Linked DNA regions of Homo sapiens: regions 1, 2, 3 and 4 are each linked to region 5. Evidence: promoter capture Hi-C in 16 types of primary human blood cells and fetal thymus (Javierre and others, 2016). All regions are on one chromosome and are shown on one strand. Each heading gives the region's core, a stretch centred on a gene start or on the middle of the fragment in contact. The rest is flanking DNA. Distances are from core to core; before and after follow the strand shown.

What was found. Contacts are between HindIII fragments. The CHiCAGO score rates a contact against its expected background, and 5 or more counts as called.
Region 1: a fragment that was not itself captured here is called in contact with the fragment with the promoter of MRPL22 in region 5 in 1 of 17 cell types (total CD4 T cells); the score reaches 6.1 in total CD4 T cells.
Region 2: a fragment that was not itself captured here is called in contact with the fragment with the promoter of MRPL22 in region 5 in 4 of 17 cell types (total B cells, fetal thymus, activated CD4 T cells and 1 more); the score reaches 10.0 in total B cells.
Region 3: a contact is called between a fragment that was not itself captured here and the fragment with the promoter of MRPL22 in region 5, in 1 of 17 cell types (naive CD8 T cells). The highest score is 6.4, in naive CD8 T cells.
Region 4: a contact is called between a fragment that was not itself captured here and the fragment with the promoter of MRPL22 in region 5, in 1 of 17 cell types (non-activated CD4 T cells). The highest score is 6.5, in non-activated CD4 T cells.

Annotation. Positions count from the first base shown.
Region 1 is chr5:160,018,267-160,021,782 of GRCh38, forward strand. The region is part of intron 2 of TTC1 (tetratricopeptide repeat domain 1); the gene reads left to right. It overlaps LOC124901124 (a long non-coding RNA gene), which reads left to right. Exons shown (of 2, transcript XR_007059025.1): 1 at 1-765. Among named protein-coding and RNA genes, the nearest start is that of TTC1, 11 kb to the left of the region's middle. The HindIII fragment of the contact is 1,261 bases long and covers 1,032-2,292 here.
Region 2 is chr5:160,427,946-160,431,867 of GRCh38, forward strand. It overlaps PTTG1 (PTTG1 regulator of sister chromatid separation, securin), which reads left to right. Exons shown (of 6, transcript NM_004219.4): 6 at 657-794. The coding sequence ends at 736. Among named protein-coding and RNA genes, the nearest start is that of PTTG1, 8.1 kb to the left of the region's middle. The HindIII fragment of the contact is 153 bases long and covers 2,340-2,492 here.
Region 3 is chr5:160,407,295-160,410,963 of GRCh38, forward strand. It overlaps SLU7 (spliceosome associated SLU7), which reads right to left. Exons shown (of 16, transcript NM_006425.5): 7 at 1,356-1,403; 8 at 1,035-1,166; 9 at 677-774; 10 at 452-519; 11 at 182-321. Among named protein-coding and RNA genes, the nearest start is that of FAM200C, 9.1 kb to the left of the region's middle. The HindIII fragment of the contact is 3,120 bases long and covers 385-3,504 here.
Region 4 is chr5:160,125,520-160,129,170 of GRCh38, forward strand. No RefSeq gene overlaps it. Among named protein-coding and RNA genes, the nearest start is that of PWWP2A, 7.9 kb to the left of the region's middle. The HindIII fragment of the contact is 527 bases long and covers 1,868-2,394 here.
Region 5 is chr5:154,939,028-154,942,749 of GRCh38, forward strand. It overlaps MRPL22 (mitochondrial ribosomal protein L22), which reads left to right and starts at 2,046. Exons shown (of 7, transcript NM_014180.4): 1 at 2,046-2,111; 2 at 2,190-2,238. The coding sequence starts at 2,084. RefSeq lists an enhancer at 1,986-2,145. The HindIII fragment of the contact is 1,041 bases long and covers 1,721-2,761 here.

The DNA of each region.
Region 1 (3,516 bases), core at 412-2,911, 5.1 Mb after region 5:
AGCTGTGCAAAATAAATTTCTATTATTTATAAATTACTGAGTCTGTTATTTTGTTATAGCAACCTGACTAAGACAGGTGGAGAGGACTGCTTTAGATTGGCTGGTCAGGAAAGCCTCTCTGGAGAGGTGGCCTCTCAACAGAGACTTAGGGGAGGGTGGCACTGGGAGCAGCCAAATGTGTGACCGTCTGAGAGGGAAGCATTGCAGACAAAGAGAGCAGTTGAATAAAGCCCTAAAGTAACAACAAGTTTGGTGTTTTGGCATGTTCAAGGAATGGAAGAGCCGATGGCTGAAGCATGATGATTAAGGAAGAGAGTGGGCTGATAGTAGGCAAGGGTCTGATTATGGAATAGTTCCTAAGCCGTAGTAAAGAACTTGAAGTTTTTTCCAAGTGCAGAAGGAAACAGATGGATAATTTTAAGCCAGGGAGAGACGGAAGTTATTTACATTTTAATAAGAGAATTCAGTTCTTATACAGAGAATGGAGGGGTATGAGGATGGAGGAGGGACATGAATAGAACATTTGAGCCCAATTAGGCTCTAATGCAGTAGCCCAGTGAAGATGATAGTAGCTTGAACTGTGGATCTGAAGAGAAGTGTATGATTTTGGGATATATTTCAGAGGTAAAGCAGACCACACATTGCAGTGGATTCGATTGGCGGGATGGAGTGAGACGTTAGAATGATTCCTTGTCTTCAGCTACTGGATGGATGGTGTGGCCTTTATTAATATGAAGAAGATGAAGGAACTTTGAACTTATCCAGGTTCTGGTGATTTAATTCTTTCCTGCAAACAAACATTTTTTATTTGTAAGCCAAAATGCAGATTTAGTCATTTCAATGGGTTTGCTCCCTTTCACTAGTGGTTTGCAAATGGTATTCATTTACATGTACACATAAGGGATCCAAAAGTCTGTTGCTTGGTGAACATGGATTCAGAATGCCTGGTATCTGGGATTTTAAAACATTAGGCTCTGAAAGTTTTAAGGATTATTCTTTAAGGTCATTTTCTCTTTAGGAACCATTATCAAAGCTTAGAAGTTTCAGTTTAGAACAGATGTTATATTTCAGTCTCTTCCCTCTGTCATTTTTCCTAAATTCCACATTACTTAATCTTTTGGATTTCCATGTTTCTGCCACCCTATTGCACCATTTTCATAATCTAATTAATGTTGTGGCTGTGGATGTGTTTGCAGGGAATACTCTCGATTGCTTCCAAAAAGTTCTCAGTAACTTCTTCCATAGTGGCCTGCATAGTCCTGTTAACGTCATGAGCAACCTTTCTGATTTTGTTGTTTCCCTTTTCTTTCATTCTTTTTTTTTTTTTTTTTTTTTTTGAGATGGATATTCCCTCTCTGTTGCCCAAGCTGGAGTGCAGCGGTGCGATCTCTGCTCACTGCAACCTCCGCCTCCCGGATTCAAGCGATTCTCTCTCTGCCTCCCGAGTAGCTGGGGCTACAGGCGTGTGCCACCACACCCAGCTAATTTTTGTATTTTTACTAGAGACTGGGTTTCACCATATTGGCCAGGCTGGTCTCGAACTCACATCATGATCCACCCACCTCGGCCTCCCAAAGTTCTGGGATTATAGGCATGAGCCACTGTGCCCTGCCTCCTGCCTCCCTTTTCTTTCATTTCTTGTTTTCTTTTTGTTGTTGTTGTTTTCTGTTTGTTTATTTTGAGACAGAGTCTTGCCCTGTCGCCCAGACTGGAGTACAGTGGCATGATCTTGGTTCACTGCAACCTCTGCCTCCCAGGTTCAAGTGATTCTCCTGCCTCAGCCTCCCAAGTAGCTGGGATTACAGGTGCCCACCACCACACCCAGCTAATTTTTGTATTTTTAGTAGAGACGGAGTTTCACCATGTTGGCCAGGCTGGTCTCGAACTCCTGACCTCAAGTGATCCGCCCGCCCCAGCCTCCTTTTCTTTCATTTCTAATAGGCATCCTTTGGAACTAAGGTGGTCAGTTTTACCAACTTCTTAGAGTTACCACTGTTGAACTTAATGCTGTCTACAAACGATTAAATCAAATCCTAGAAGGAGCTTAGATTTCTGATCCCAAGTTTGTTTATTTTTATTTTTGTAGAGGCCCTTTCACTTGGCCTCCCAAAGTGCTGGGATTACAGGAATGAACCACCCTGCCTGGCCTGATGCTAAGTTTAAACCAGTGGAAATAAGGGTTGCTTGCTCTAAAACAGGGGTCGTCAACCCCCGGCCATGTACTGATACCAGTCTGTGGCCTGTAAGGAACCCAGCCACACAGCAGGAAGTGAGCAGCAGGCTAGTGAGCGAAGCTTCATCTGTATTTACAGCCACTTCCCATCGCTTGCATTACTGTCTGAGCTCCACCTCATGTCATATCCATGGTAGCATTAGATTCTCGTAGGCTTGTGAACCCTGTTGTGAATTGCACATGCAAGGGATCTGTGTTGCCTGCTCCTTACAAGAATCTAATGCCTGATAGTCTATCACTGTCTCTCATCACCCCCAGGTAGGACCGTCTAGTTGCAGGAAAACAAGCTTAGGGCTCCCACTGATTCTACATTATGGTGAATTGTATAACTATTTGATTATATATTACAGTTTAATAATTATAAAGTACACAATAAATGTAATGTGCTTGAATCATTATGAACACCCCCTTCCCCAAGACCCTAGTCCGTGGAAAAATAGTTCCCCACAAGAGCAGTCCCTGGTGCCAAAAAGGGTAGGGACCGCTGCTCTAAAACATTTGGAAGTTAGTGAGGTGTGTTTACATTATTTGCTGGCAGAAAAGTTAAAATGACGTTCAGTATTTCCTGTGTTTATTAAGAAAGGTCACTTTGTGTAGATCAGTGGTTTCCAGACTTTATTGTGTCTAAGCATCACAGGAAATGTATTAACCATGCACAGCCTGAGAAGTGTCTGACACCACACACCTGTGAGGCAACAACCAGGCATCTGTTTTGTTAGCAAGCCTCCCAGGTAATTTTGATATAGGAAGAACTGTGGCCACACCATGGGAAACAGATCCAGATGGACACAGATGACTAAGCTTCCAAAACAAGAAGTATTGACCTAACCCGTACATTGACTGCATCCAACATCGGAAGAACTGAATAGGAGGTTTTCTTTTACCTACATCCGTTGATCAAGGTCTAAAAACAACTTGTTGGGCCGAATTTAAGCAGTCCTGACATAGAAAATTTATTTCTGTTAAAGATTGAGTTTTGGGAAATAGAATTTTCTGATTTAAGAAACAAGGGACTATTTCCAAGATTAATTCCTCATAGATCAGTCATTTTTTTCCTCAGAAGGATAACACCTACTGAGAGGCAGGTTCTAACTGTGGCTTAGATCCAAAGATCCTCCCTCATGCCTCCCTAGAGGACCTGTAAAGGTGACTTGTGGAAAGAACAGATATGTCTTTATGTATGTAAAGCAAGTGATATCTGATTTCAAAGAAGACAAAACCAAAAGCTTATTTTTTTAATGATAAGGAATTCCCTTCAAAATAATTATAGAACTGATGTCCCT
Region 2 (3,922 bases), core at 1,166-3,665, 5.5 Mb after region 5:
AGTTGTGCGGGAGGTGAGCCTGTGAGTAATTTCTGTCCTTCAAATGACAAGGATTAGTTTTCAGAAAAATAAACTATTCTCGATTAATATTGCTTTTCAGTCCCAAATGCCCCAGTAAAATTGTTATTCTGGAAACTGGATAGTCTTACTACAGCCAAAAGATTAATTCTCACTTACATCTTCTTAGGCTATAAGTTGAAGCATATATAATAAACTTGCTTGGAATGATGATTCCATGTTATATCCAAAGCTAATATAAGATCAAAACACCTGTGCTGTAGCATAGACTGACAATAACTTCTTACTGCAGAAGGTCTGAGGTCTTCGTTTGAACTGGTAGTCAAAGCCAACATTATGTTTTCTGTTTGTTCTGATGTGGGATAATTTGTCCTAATAAGTTACATTAGTGAGACTGTTAACTCTTACTTTGGTCTCTAAGAACAATAGAGATTCAGATACTTCTAAAACTTACTTCCTAATGAAAGTCAATTCTGGGGCCACAGACACATTCCAAAAAATGTGTCAGGAGGGGATGCAGGTGATTGATTTGACAAAGGGAAAAACATGAATTTTTGATTGACAGCTAATGTCTATGTTGATATGGACAATGACTCAAGGATTTGCAGAAATTTTAATAAGAGATTCCTGTTTTCTAGATCTGTTGCAGTCTCCTTCAAGCATTCTGTCGACCCTGGATGTTGAATTGCCACCTGTTTGCTGTGACATAGATATTTAAATTTCTTAGTGCTTCAGAGTTTGTGTGTATTTGTATTAATAAAGCATTCTTTAACAGATTCTTCCTAGTATTGTGGTTGCTTTTCCATGGAGGTTACTTAAAATAACATGAAAGCTAGCTGAGGTGTTTAACAAAGAGTCTATAATGTGACAATAGAGATTTGTCTGATGTCTAAAAACTTAAATCTTTTTGGTTTAACAGCTTATTTTAGAAGCTGCCACTGTTTTTTCCTGAAAAGTATACCCCTCAATGTGTACTTTATTGACTTTTTGTGGCCATTAACTAGTGACAGTTATTAGATCTCTTAATTAGAAGAGCTACTTCCAACTCATTAAGTATCTATTGCTGGGCATTCTTTATTGCCGGTTCTACTTAGTTTCTAATGACTTTAATACTCAGTATTGAAAGGCTCTAAATCTGAGAATTCAGCCTCCTTGGGATCTTCAATTAGATTCCTTAAAGATCACTGGAGATAATTTACTGATAGTAAGGTCTACACTCCACCTATAGGAAACTGTATTTAGTTGTTTACCTTGTGTTGGACATGAGTATTTGAGAAGCATTATTATGTTTAATGTTTGACACTTTCCCAGGTAAGACAATGAAGCGCAGAAGTTCATTGATTTGTCAAAGATGTGAAGAGCTAGAAAATTATTAGAGCTGGTATTTTGATCTCAGTTCTGAGGTTGGAATCAAAATAGAGATGGCAAATGGTTGCTCATAGGTTTTCTTTTTGAGGGAGGGGGTGGATATTTTAAAAACCTTAATCATTTCCACTATTTAAAATTCCAGTGTTTCACCAATCTGGCTTTGGAGATTCTCTTGAAAAGAGATGTGTCCATAGTAGACCCTGTTTCCAACACTTGCTGGGGCTGGAGGTAGATTGCAGGCTGCTGCCTTTTAGGTGGAGTATAGGCTTTCTATCCCACAGACCCTGCCTTAAATGGCCTCAGTGAGAACTGAAGTGATCCTTTTACCTTTCATGTCTCTTCTGAGACCTAGCCTACTTAACTCACTTTACTCGCTTGGGCCATGTAGTAACCTGAATTTGACCCTTGCTTGATGCTAAGTTATATAAGAAGTCTTTCCCTTGATATATCAGTAGCTTCTATGGTCAAGTTAGAATGTGAACACTTTGCCATTGTCATTGGAGGAAGCTGAAGGATATTAGGCATGAAATACTAAGAACACCTACAACCGCTTATCCTGACTTTAAAACTTTTTACCTTCTAAATACAACTGAATCAGTGTGACTTTCTGGAATTAGTGGAAAGGCAGACTTCTAGGAGAAGATAATACCATAAGACTACTAGGGCACTTGGCTTTAGGGGAGAGTAATAGGTTTAGCATCCTCAGGTAAAATAGGGCTGCTAAGAAAACCAAAGTATAGGTTGGACACAGTGGCTCACACCAGTAATCCCAGCACTTGAGAGTTTGAGGTGGGAGGACTGCTTGATCCCAGGAGCTTGGGTTCAACCTGGGCCATGTAGTGAGACCCTTGTCTCTCAAAAATTAAAAATAATTAGCCGGGTGTGGTGGCGCATGCCTGTAGTCCTAGTTTCAGGAGGTTGAGGCAGGAGGATTGCTTGAGCCCAGGAGTTCAAGCTTACAACTTGAGTGGCTATAGTCATGCCACTGGGTGGTAAAGTGGGTGGTAGAGTAGCCTGGGTGGTAGAGTGAGATGCTGTCTCACAAAAACAACAAAAAAAGCAAAGTGTAGTTCTGAATGGCTTTCATACTCTGCAACACAAACTGAAGCTTTGGAAAATTGTCTTTTGTGGTAGAGGGAACCAAGGGCTGGGAGCAAGGGGACTAGTCAGTCCCTTACCAGTTAATTGCCGTCCTCTGGGTCAGAACTGAGTATAGAGGGATCTGATCTTTTCATCTGCTGTTAATCAGATTGCAATGTGCATAATGTGTGCTGAGACTGAGAACTTTAAGCAGATGCTCCTCCATTAATACAGATAATTTGCATCTTGTGGGGGTTGTTGCTATTTTGTTCTGACACTTTTTGAAATAAGACAGACTTTATTCATACCTTTACAACTCTGTAAACCTTCTGCATTTCTCTACACTACCTCTGAGCCTGCCTCTCAGGATACTGTACCTTCTTATAGTAGGAGCTAACAGTCAGGAATGCCATTATCTTGCTACCATTTCTTCTTTCTTATTACAAGTTGTATTTTTCTACTTTCCATGCCAGCCATGGATTTTACCTTTTTTCATGCTGGGTATTTTTACATTTCTATTAATATTCTTAAACTTTGTTCTAGAGTATGGGTAAGGTACCTAGAAGCAATTTGATTCATTTGAGACTTGCCTTTAATGTTAGGCATCACCAGAGCAGCATTTAGCCCAGGGCTCATTTCCCCCTACTACTGAAGTGTGAGATGCTTAGGACTCTGCTGCCCCCTGAATTATGAGGTTTTCCTGTCTAGCTGGTGGGAGCAGACACTATTCCCAGCCCTGTGTGGGCTTCAGGAATTCTTCCCTCTGATCTTTTCAGCTATATGGATCAGTGCTCTTCTGAATACTACAGGGAGACCCTCTGCAAATTTCCAGGGTTCTCTCTGTGCAGCTCTCTCCTCTCCAGTGCTCTGCTCTGCAAACTTGGCCTGCCTTGGCCTGACTCTGCTCTGTCTCTTCAACTCAGGAAATTCACTGGGCTCTGCCTGCCTCCCTTTCTTCCCCACTCTGAGGCCTGGAAACTCAAAAGTAGCCAGTAAGGATAGTCATCGGCCTCACCTCACTTATTTCACATTCCTCAGGCATCGCTGTTCTCTGTCGCCTGATGTTCACTCTTTGGGCAGCCCTCATTTCATATATTTTGTCTTGTTTTTTAGTTTCAGGCAGGAGAGTAAATCTGGTCCCTGTTACTCCATCTTGATTGGAATTGAAAGTTCCTTCTAGATATTCCTTTCATTTTTTTTCTTTTTTGAGACGGAGTCTTGCTCTGTCGCCCAGGCTGGAGTGCAGTGGTGCAATCTTGGCTCACTGCAAACTCCACCTCCCGGGTTCATGCCATTCTCCTGCCTCAGCCTCCCGAGTAGCTGGGACTACAGGCGCCCACCACCACGCCCAGCTAATTTTTTTTTTTTTTGTATTTTTAGTAGAGACAGGGTTTCACCGTGTTCGCCAGGATGGTCTCGATCTCCTGACCTCGTGATCTGCCGGCCTTGGCCTCCC
Region 3 (3,669 bases), core at 695-3,194, 5.5 Mb after region 5:
TTGTTTTGCTGCAAAAGCTCATACAAAATTACCATCTGACTAAGAGAAAGGAAGAAAAGGACTATTCTTCATGGATTAAGAGGGCTCTCTTTGCATTATTTTCCAAATGTAAAACTAACGCTTATTAACTAGTAACTTCTCTTTAACAGAAGTTCTTCTTTAGCATTTTGGTCAAAATTACCTTTTCCAGGATGCTTTCTTTCTGCTGTTCTTTGAAATCTTCTTTTTTGACTTTGAAGGACTTATACAACAGCTCTAGCTTTGTAGGATCTGCCTGTAGATGCACTTCAGATCCCTTGTCATAGGCTTCCCATGCAAACACTAGAGTAATTCAAAACATCTTAGTGAGTTGGCAGCTGCATTACTGTATGCTTCTTGAAAACAAGCTTTAAACAATCCCAAACGTCTTATGAGCTGATATAAAATGGCTTGACATAGAGGAAACACTTACACTGTGTCTGAGCCATTGAAATGGTATCTCCTGTGTACCTAACAAAGTTATCTCCAGCATAACTCACTCTGTAAATACAAATAAAGAAAATGTTTCAGAGATTGATTTAAGGAAAATTAATTCGTAAAACTGAATCTGAATTAAAATGAACACCATCTATGGTCAGGTCAGAAAACAATTAACTTTCTCTCATCTTAAAATCTGTACATTTAACTTGATACTTACTCATCTGGATTCTTTCCTGCATTGGCATAAGGATTCTCTCTCATTGCTCTAGTTTTTGGATCATAGTAGGCAGAATTTGGATCTAAATTCCTCAAATACTAGAAGAAAAAAATATTTAAAGAATTAATGTTTACTCACAGCAAAAAGATTTCAGCAGACTAGTTGGAGGAGTTGAACATGATCAATTAAATAAATGTGTGTATACATTTCTGGGGTTCAGGTGAAGAGAAAAAACAGAATGAAACCTTATCTTAGAATGACTCTGACTATATTATCCATATGCTACCCAGAGTCGATAAAATTTATGCTGGGAAGACAAGTATTTTTCAAATATGTATGTTAAGCTGACAAGACTTACTTTTGCAATATCTTCTCGAATCCTGAGATTCCGGACAGTAATTCGTCTCTTGGAGTCAAAATTCTGTCCAGGCATGTCAATATCATCTGCATATTTATCTTCATCCTCATCTTCACTATTATGATCTTTTTCCTAAAAGAGGGAGAGGAAGGAAAAGTAAGAAGAAAAGAAAGCAGCATGTAGTTCTTTTTTTTCCCCTTTCCCTTTAACCAAACCCTTATTTACTTGTGTTCTTTAAAAGCTATTATTAGTGTTATTTATTATTAGCCATCAGAAATTTAAAAATTTAACATATACTCAGAGACAGCAAATATGTATTACCATCTGAGAATTTGGTTCCTCTTCTCCCCACTGGTGTTTTGGAGAATTCTGCATCATGAAAGAAGAAAAATCATTCATAATCTCATTCCACTTAATCCAATTAACTTTATTATTAAGATAATAAAGTATTATTATCTTATTATAAATAATATATTTATATAATAAAATATATTTTATTATATATTATATTTATATTATATATAATAAATATTTATTATATAATATATAATATGTAACTTATAAATAAGTATTAAGATAATAAAACTTAATTCTAACTGAACAAACTCTCACACTTCTCAGTTATAATGAGCGCAAAAATTCTGAATACAAGAGTGCCATTGTAAATAATTTTATTACACTGTCTATAAAGCCAGCAAATTTCAAGAGAATTTTAATTAAGATTATAACCACAAAATGGTAACAGAAAGATTAAGATGTCCAAAGTACCCAATAAATATTAATTTCTAAATGTGTTAGTCTTCAGACATACTGTATTCATTAAACGTTACTAGTTTCCTAGTAAGTCCAAAAAGAAAATATTACTGGGTTCATGTCTTCACAGCCAAAGTGAAGTTTGGGCAATGAAAAAAATCTACAAGTGACACAGTATTGTAATTTAAGGAGAGGCCAAACTCCTTGTCACAAGGATACACTTTTCTTCGCTAGCAATTGGTCAGAATACTTTCTAACTCCACAGAATGCCTACACTAACGTGGTATTTCATCATGTCCCTTCATAAAGGCTTCAAAGATTAAAAATACTTAAAAAAAAAGAGAATACATTATAGCATTAGTGAGGAGATGCAGAAACACGTGTATGTATATATACTATATAGATGGAAGCATAAATCTGCATGGCTTTTCTGAATGATGGCTAAGTGATATGTCATAAAAATTTTAGAAATACAAACTCACTGAAATACACTTCTAGAAGGTTATCCTAGTATCATGTCAATTATATAAAGATGTATAAGAATGTGATGTGCAGTGTTGTATATGTGCAATGTTTTTTCAAAACACTGGGAAAAAATCAAATTAATAGATCACTGGTTATATAATGTATTGCACTCCATGGAACACTGAACGGCCATTAAAAGTGATTCTATCCAAGGGGCAGAAAAGTATGTATCGTTTCCTAACTTTTTTGATTAAAAAAAGGGGAGGGGAGAGACAGATAGGATAAGGGTATATATTTGTATTTGTATTTATTCAAGACAGTCTGAAAGGAGCCACACACATACACAAAAGAGTTGGGGCGAGGGGAAGTTTAGTGTTAGGGTGGATAGAAACAGGGGTGGAGAGACTTCGCTGTGCATCTTCTTAAATTGTTTTAATTTTTGAGCCATGTGAATTCATACAAAAATAAATGATGCTATAGGTCTATAAATATAGACAGAAAACACGTTCCCACTGTACTCTATGTTGTTAAATTAAAAAAGAAGGTAATAAATGAATATATAAAGATGGATTCATGTAAGAAACATTTTGTATTCTAGCACACATGAACAGGTATATGTGGACAAGAGAGACCTGGAAAGGCCTACTTCAAAATGTTCACAATTAACACAGGGATATTTTCTTTTTTATATTATGTTCTAATTTTTTTCCACTTAATATGTGTTACTTTCAAAATTAGAAATATAAATATTTTGTAAAAAATAATTTTTTTGAGTTCCCACTATTTGCTAGTTCACCAAAGACATTTACATACATTTCTATAGTGACAGCTAAGTCTCTAAATCTACTGTATGTGGTTCATCTTAATATCCAAGCATCCTGGGAGCGGGGAGAGATAGCATTAGGAGATATACCTAATGCTAAATGACGAGTTCATGGGTGCAGCACACCAACATGGCACATGTATACATACGTAACAAACCTGCACGTTGTGCACATGTACCCTAAAACTTAAAGTATATAAAAAAAAAATAATCCAAGCATCCAAGTGGGCAAAAATCATTAGCCCCTTACATACATTAAGTATCCTTACTGGGGAAATAAATTACATTACGTTTACAACAAACAACAGAGAATACATTAGAACAAAAGAAACAGGCCCTTTTTCTTTTCCCAAAGTTAGTAATAAATAAAAATAATCACAACAATAATAGCTACTAATTACCCAGTGTTTACTATGTGATATGTATATAAGCTTCCTGGGGGTAGGTGTTATCATTTCTATTTCAGACATACTAAACTGCAGCTCAGAGAGGCAAATTCACTTTTTTTTTTTTTTGAGACGGAGTCTCACTCTGTCGCCCAGGCTGGAGTGCAGCGGCATGATCTTGGCTCACTGCAAGCTCTGCCTCCTGGGT
Region 4 (3,651 bases), core at 881-3,380, 5.2 Mb after region 5:
AGCAAAAATAGTTCAATAGTTGTTAGCAACTAAGTCCAAAAACTCATTCTTGTATCTGTGGTTGATCATACTCAAGGGGTGCTGATCCTCAATAACCAAACTTGAGTAAGTCTAAGTAAAAACCCAAACACAAGGGTATTGGTCCCTGGAGAGGAATAACTATGGCTAAATATGGCTTAGTGGTTATCTCTGGGCCTGGTTTCTCAGGAAATAGAATTATAGACAGAAGATAACATGGGGAACATGGCCATCAAACCATAGGGGCTGAGTGAATTGCTCCTCGTGTTCTGGGCCTATTTCTGATGAGGTAATCAATATTTCTCTTCTAGGCCAGGCGTGGTGGCTCACGCCTGTAATCCCAACACTTTGGGAGGCTGAGGCAGGTGGATCACCTGAGGTCAGGAGTTTGAGACCAGCCTGGCCAGCATGGTGAAACCCCGTCTCTACTACAAATACAAAAATTAGCCGGGCGTGGTGGTGGGTGTCTATAATCCCAGCTGCTCAGGAGGCTGAGATGGGAGAATCACTTGAACCGGGGAGGCAGAGGTTGTGGTGAGCCAAGATCACGCCATTGCACTCCAGCCTGGGCAACAGAGCAAGACTCTGTCTCAAAATAAAAAAAAAAAATAAAAAAAATAAAAAATTATCTTCTGGAATTAGATCACCTGCTCCCAGACCAAGGCTGTGATGGGTAACTAATGACAAATATGTCATTTGTCATCTCTGCCTCTGCCTCTGTGTGTGTGTGTGTGTGTCAGTCAGTAGTTCTGAATGTATCATGTATAGGGGGAACTCTCTGAGAATCTGCTAAAAAGTTATTTTGTGCATATTATATGATTTTTTTTTTTGAGACAGAGTCTTGCTCTGTCACCCAGTTTAGAGTGCAGTGGTGTGATCTCAGCTCACTGCAACCTCCAGCCCCTGGGTTCAAGTGATTCTCACGCCTCAGCCTCCCGAGTAGCTGGGATTATAGGTGCTTGCTACCGCGCCTGGATAATTTTTGTATTTTGTATTTTTAGTAGAAACAGGGTTCCACCATGTTGGCCAGGCTGGTCTTGAATTCCTGACCTCAAGTGATCTGCCCACCTTGGCCTCCCAAAGTGCTGGGATTACAGACATGAGCCACTGTACCTGACCGATACTATTTATATATGGTACAAAACCAAACAAAACAAATTTATGCTGTTTGAAGTCGGGATGGGGGTTACTCTTGATAGGAGATGATGGGGAGCAGCACAGCTAGTGACGGAAAGAGAATATGAATGGTGCTTTCTGGGGTTCTGATAATTTCTGATTCTTGATCTGGGTACTGGATACACAAGTATGTTCAGCTTGTAATGATTCATCAAGCTCTGCACTTACGTGTACTTTTCTGTAAGTAAATTTATATCAGTTATCTATATCTGCTAGTGGTATTAGTGTCTTAACAACATACATTTATTTCATCACCATGCTCAGAGTGAGAAACCTAGGCAAGGCTTAACTAAGTCCTCTCTCTTCTTTTTTTTTTTTCCTGAGACGGATTCTCGCTCTGTCACCCAGGCTGGAGTGCAGTGGCACGATCTCGGCTCACTGCAAGCTCTGCCTCCTGGGCTCATGCCATTCTCCTGCCTCAGCCTTCCAAGTAGCTGGGACTAAAGGTGCCCGCCACAATGCCTGGCTAATTTTTTTGTATTTTTAGTAGAGACAGGGTTTCACCATCTTAGCCAGGATGGTCTCGATCTCCTGACCTTGTGATCCACCTGCCTCAGCCTCCCAAAGTGCTAGGATTACAGGCATGAGCCACTGTGCCCAGCAAAATCCTCTCTTTCAGTCTCTCACAAGGCTACATATCAAGGTGTCAGCTGGGGGTGTGGTTTCATCTGAAAGCTTAACTAGGGAAGGATCCATATGATGATTAATTTTACGTACCAGTTTGACTGAGCCAAGGGGTACCCAGATTAAACCATATTTCTGGGGTGTTGAGAGAATGTTTCTAGATGAGATTAGCATTTGAATCAGTGGACTCAGTAAAGTGGATGGCCCTCAGCAGTGTGGGTGGGCATCATCCAATCTGTTGAGAGGCTGAATAGAGCAAAAGGCAGAGGAAGAAGGAATTCACTTCTTTTGCTGCCTGCCTGCCTGCCTGTTGGAGCTGGAACATTAGTCTGCTCCTGTCCTTGTACTGGGATGTACATCATCAACTCCCCAGATTCTCAGGCATTTGGACCTGGACTGGAATAACACCAGGCTTTCTTGGGTCCCCAGCTTGCACATGGCAGTTTACGCAACTTCTCAGCCTCCACAATCAAGTGATCCAATTCCTTATGATAAATTTCTTCCAAAATATTTATATTTGGGCATATGTATTTTGAAAGTCCATTTCCAAGGTAACTCACATTTTCATCTACAGCAAGCTTGTTCAACCAGCGGCCCATGGGCCACACGCAGCCTAACGCAAATTTGTAAACTTTCCTAAAACGTTATGAGATTTTTTTTGTGGTGTTTTTTGTTGTTGTTGTTGTTGTTGTTGTTGTTGTCGTTGTTCTTCAGCTTTTGTTAGTGTAGTGTATTTTATGTGTGGCCCAATTCTTCTTCTTCCAGTGTGGCCCAGGGAAGCCAAAAGATTGGACACCCCTGATTTATAGGATTCAGTTCCTTGGTGGCTGTTGACCAGAGGCTGCCCTCAACTAATTGCCACGTGGGTCTGCTCCATAGGACAGCTCAAAACATGCAACTTGCTTTGTCAGAGTAAGCATACAAGAAGAGCCAGAGGAAAAATTGGTGTAAGCAAGAAAGAAGTCGCAGTATTTTGTCGTGTGATCTCAGAAGAGGCATCCCAGCACTTTTGCTGCACTCTGTTCAGAAGCAAGTCACCAGGTCCAGCTATTTACAAGGAGAGAGGATTCCACAAGGGCATGTATGCCAAGAGGCAGGGATCACTGAGAGCAATTTCAGAAACTGATACCACACAACTTAAAAGTTTGAAGAAATGAAAACAAAAGATTTCAAATGGGCTGGGCACGGTGACTCATGCTTGTAATCCCAGCACTTTGGGAGGCTGAGGCAGGCAGATGACCTCAGATCAGGAGTTCGAGACCAGCCTGGCCAACATGGTGAAACCCCATCTCTACTAAAAATGCAAAAATTAACCAGGCGTGGTGGTGGGCGCATGTAATCCCAGCTACTGAGAGGCTGAGGCAGGAGAACCGCTTGAACCCAGGAAGCAGAGGTTGTGGCGAGCCAAGATCACGCCATTGCACTCCCGCCTGGGCAACAAGAGCGAAACTCCATCTCAAATAAATAAATAAATAAATAAATAAATAAATAAATAAAACTTCCTGCTCTATATGGATACCACACATCCCTTACCACCTGCTTCTGATAACAGATTCTCACTTCACACCACAGGTGAAAGAGCCATCATATTACAAAGGTAAATTTCAATATTAAGGACAATCTCCATAATAAGAGCCAACATTAATCCAGCCATTTATGAGCACTATGTGTCAGGCAGAGACAGCCACCAGATGAGCTTGGGGGAATCAAGTAATAAAATGTGGGTCCTATCCTGAAACATTTTGCCCATAGTCTTCGGGTGTCCTTTCACACAGCTCCCCCTTTTTCTTTGTATATTCCTAACAATTCCCATGTCAACATAATTCCTCAAAA
Region 5 (3,722 bases), core at 796-3,295:
TGGGCGACATTGCGAGACTCCATCTCAAATAAAAACAAAACAAAACAAAAAAAGATATGCACAAGAGGCCACTTAACAAAAATATTGTTGTACCTGAGTGAGTTAGAGAAAACGCCACACTTTGAGACGAATTAAGAGTCCATTTGTTTAGCCGGTGGCCAAGAGATGGCTAACGCTCAAAGTTCTCTCAGCCGGAAGAAGAGGCTAGATTTTCTTTTATACTTTGGTTTAGAAAGGGGAGGGGAGTCTAGTTAAAACAATTTTACAGAAATAAAGTAGGCAAAAAGTTAAAAGGATAAATGGTTACAGGAAAGTAAACAGTTCCAGGTGCAGGGGCTTTAAGACTATTTATTACAAGGTGATAGACTGGGGGCTTTGGGTGCTATCAATCAGACGAATTCCTGGGAATTGCGGATATTGCTCGCCACAGTATCTTATCAGTTAATTGCATCTTGGATGTGCTGGGAGTCAGCTTGCACAAGTTAAGTTCTTGAGGAAGGGGCTGCCAGTGAAAGAGCCAAGATGGAGTCTGTCTGGCTCTCTTAGCTAAGCAAGAGTCAATTCAAGTGGAAACAAGGCTAGGTGATCAGAGGAAAAAGGGAGAGTCTAAAAACAGGGTTAGTAAAAACAAGGTTGGGCATTACAATATGGAGTCCGGGAGACAGGCTGGTGTGAGCTGTGATCGAGCCACTGCACTCAAGCCTGGGCAATAGAGTGAGACCCTGTCTCAAAAAAACAAAACAAACAAAAATATGAAAGTACGAATCTGGAATTAAAAAGGGAAAGAACAGTTTCTGCAACTGGGTGGAAATTCTGGCTCTGGGTTCTGGGTACTCAAAGATGAAGGAGAAGCAAATGGAGTGACTCTTGATTTGCTTGATTGAGGGCCAGCTGTGTGAAGGAAGCTGTATGTGGTAAATGGTGTGGAAGAAAGTTTCCTTTCAACTCAAAAATGCTAAAATGCTCAGATTCTGCACTACTCGTGTGTTGCTTGTTTGCATTGGGTATCTGACATTCCTGCATAGGTAGCAAACCGCAATCTGAACTACCTGTTATTCTAATACAGAGGGGTCAAATACATATATTTGAAGGCGTCTAGGGGCACAAATTTGGAGGCACCTAGTCGTAGATTGATCACTGGTTTGCCAGTTGTTAGTTGAGAGACTTTAACATATCCTAAATATGTTTCCTCATTTGAAGAAGGAAAATGATAATCCATGCCTTGTTGGATTGCTGTGAGGAATAAATGAGATTTAGTGAAATACCTGCCTGACATAAGGCAGTAAATGCCAGATGAATATAAACTCATTCTTGAAGGTCAACCAGATTAGTAGGGATTAGGACAGCATACATCATATTTGAACTATTTGCTCTTTAAAAGAGATTTTAGGCTAGGTTTCGTGGCTCATACCTCTAATCCTAGCACTTTGGGAGGCCGAGGAGGGCAGATTGCTTGAGCCCAGGAATTCGAGATCAGCCTGGGCAATTTGGGGAAACTCCTTATCTATAAAAAATACAAAAATTAGCCGGGCGTGGTGATGTGCGCCTGTAGTCACAGCTACTTGGGAGGCTGAGGTAAGAGGGTGGCTTGAGCCCGGGGTCGAGGCTGCAGTGAGACTAGGTCATTGCTACCACACTCCAGCCTAAGCGAGAGAGAGACCCTGTTTCAATAAAATGAAATAAAATAGCTTTCACACTATTTCAACTGATCTTTACAACAAGCTTGTGCCCTAAGGTTAGTCATTTCTGATAAGAAAACTGAGGACCACCGGATTAGGTGGCTTGTTCACGGATTCTGTTCCCCTACTCCTTTCTAGTTTGTGAGTTGGGACTTTAGTTTTTCTGAATCCAGGTGAATTTTCGGAAGCCCACGTGCTTTCGGCCTTTATTAATTAATTCATTCCCAAGCCAGGTTCGCCTGACCACACCTCGAGCGCCGGCCCAGTGCTTGCGATCTTCGTGACGGCACCTGGGGTGTAAGTACTGCTTGTGGGAGAGCCCCACAGGAAATCCAGAGTATTGCGCATGCGTGCTGTCCAGAAGGCGCTTGAACTCGGCGGCTTCCGTAGCGGGAGGGCGAAAGATGGCGGCGGCAGTACTGGGACAGTTGGGTAAGGATTTCTTAGTGGTTAAGCGACAGAAGGGAGTCGAGATGGAATCTGAGTTGACGGCTTGTGTTGATGTTGCAGGTGCGTTATGGATACATAACCTGAGGAGCCGGGGGAAGCTGGCCTTGGGGTGAGTCTCTCGCTTCGGAGTTTCGGAAGGGCCCAAGGCATCTTTAGTATTCTGCCAGTTGGTAACTGAGCGCCTCCGTGCCTAACTGTGTTTTAGGCTCTGGGGTTACTGAGGCGAATGAGACAGCCCGAGTCTCTGCTTTGTCACTCTATTTTTTCTCCACCTTATTGCATAAACTGTACAGGGATCAGGATTACCCATAACCCAAGGGCGATTGTAAATGCGATTTCCGAACGTCTACTGTGATCTTTCTGGACAAGGTTAGACTATTCCATCTCCATATGGAAGCGTCCAACTTTTCAAGTTACCTCTCTGATTACTTGCTTACATGGGCAGGGACCGTGTTGTGGACAACTCTGCTTTACGTCGTACCTGACATTGTGTTTAGCGGTTTATATGCTTTAACTCACTCTCATAACATTCTACGAGTAGGTTCTGCTATACCCGTTTTTCAGACAAGGAAATTGAAGTCCCCAAACGTAAAATAACTTGCCTAAGGCCACTCAGTTGTAGGAAATTTTGAAGCTTTATACCAGAGCATTCTGTAGCCTTAGGACAAAAGCATTCATTAAAGGTTAGGGTAAGTAGTCGCTGTATTTCTCCCCAAAATAAAAAATCGGTATTTGAAAATTGATAATCTGATTGTAAATTTTCTGGTCTGTCCATTTGTTAGCATTGATTTTGGTTTAGTTCATAGGCTTTGCAGACAGATGAGTTGTATATGAATCCATTTTTTAACTGTGATCTTGGAAAAGTTACTTATTCTTAATAAGCTTCAGTTATCACTTTTATGATATGAGCGTTATGTTAGTACCTATCTCTTAGGATTTAAAAAATTTTTTAATTTTTATTTATTTATTTTTTTAGATGAAGTGTTGCTATGTTGCCCATGCTGGTCTCAAACTTAAGGGCTGAAACAATTCTCTTGCCTCAGCCTCCTGAAGTACTGGGATTACAGGCACATGCCATCTATGTAGCTCTAGTAGATTTTAAAAAGGAAATTCAAACAAGATAATGCATATGAAGTATTTAGTATGTTTATGGCATGTGATAATCCCACTCTGAATTCTAGTTGCCATTAATGTTTTTATTATTATAAATTATTACTGAGTTCCCAATTATATTTAACCCTTTTCTAAGTTTTTGGGTCCGAGGGGGATAAAGAGGTGGGCTAAAGAAGAAAATAGGAAGTAGTAGCTCTTAGGATTTGTCTGTACTCTTCTTAGATAATCTTCTATCACTCTTCCCCCAACCATGCTGATTTACTTACTTTTTCTGAATATACTTTGCACTTACTTGCTTCTTGGCTTTTCCTACTATGCCCTCACATCTTGTCTATAACAGCAGTCCTACCCATTATTCAAACCTCTGTTCAGATGTTTTCCCTTCAGGAAGTTTTCACTGGTTTCTCTAAAACGGAAAGAAATTAGTTTTTCCTTCCTTTTAGCATGTGTGCCTTCTATGATGACTTCATGTATATGTGT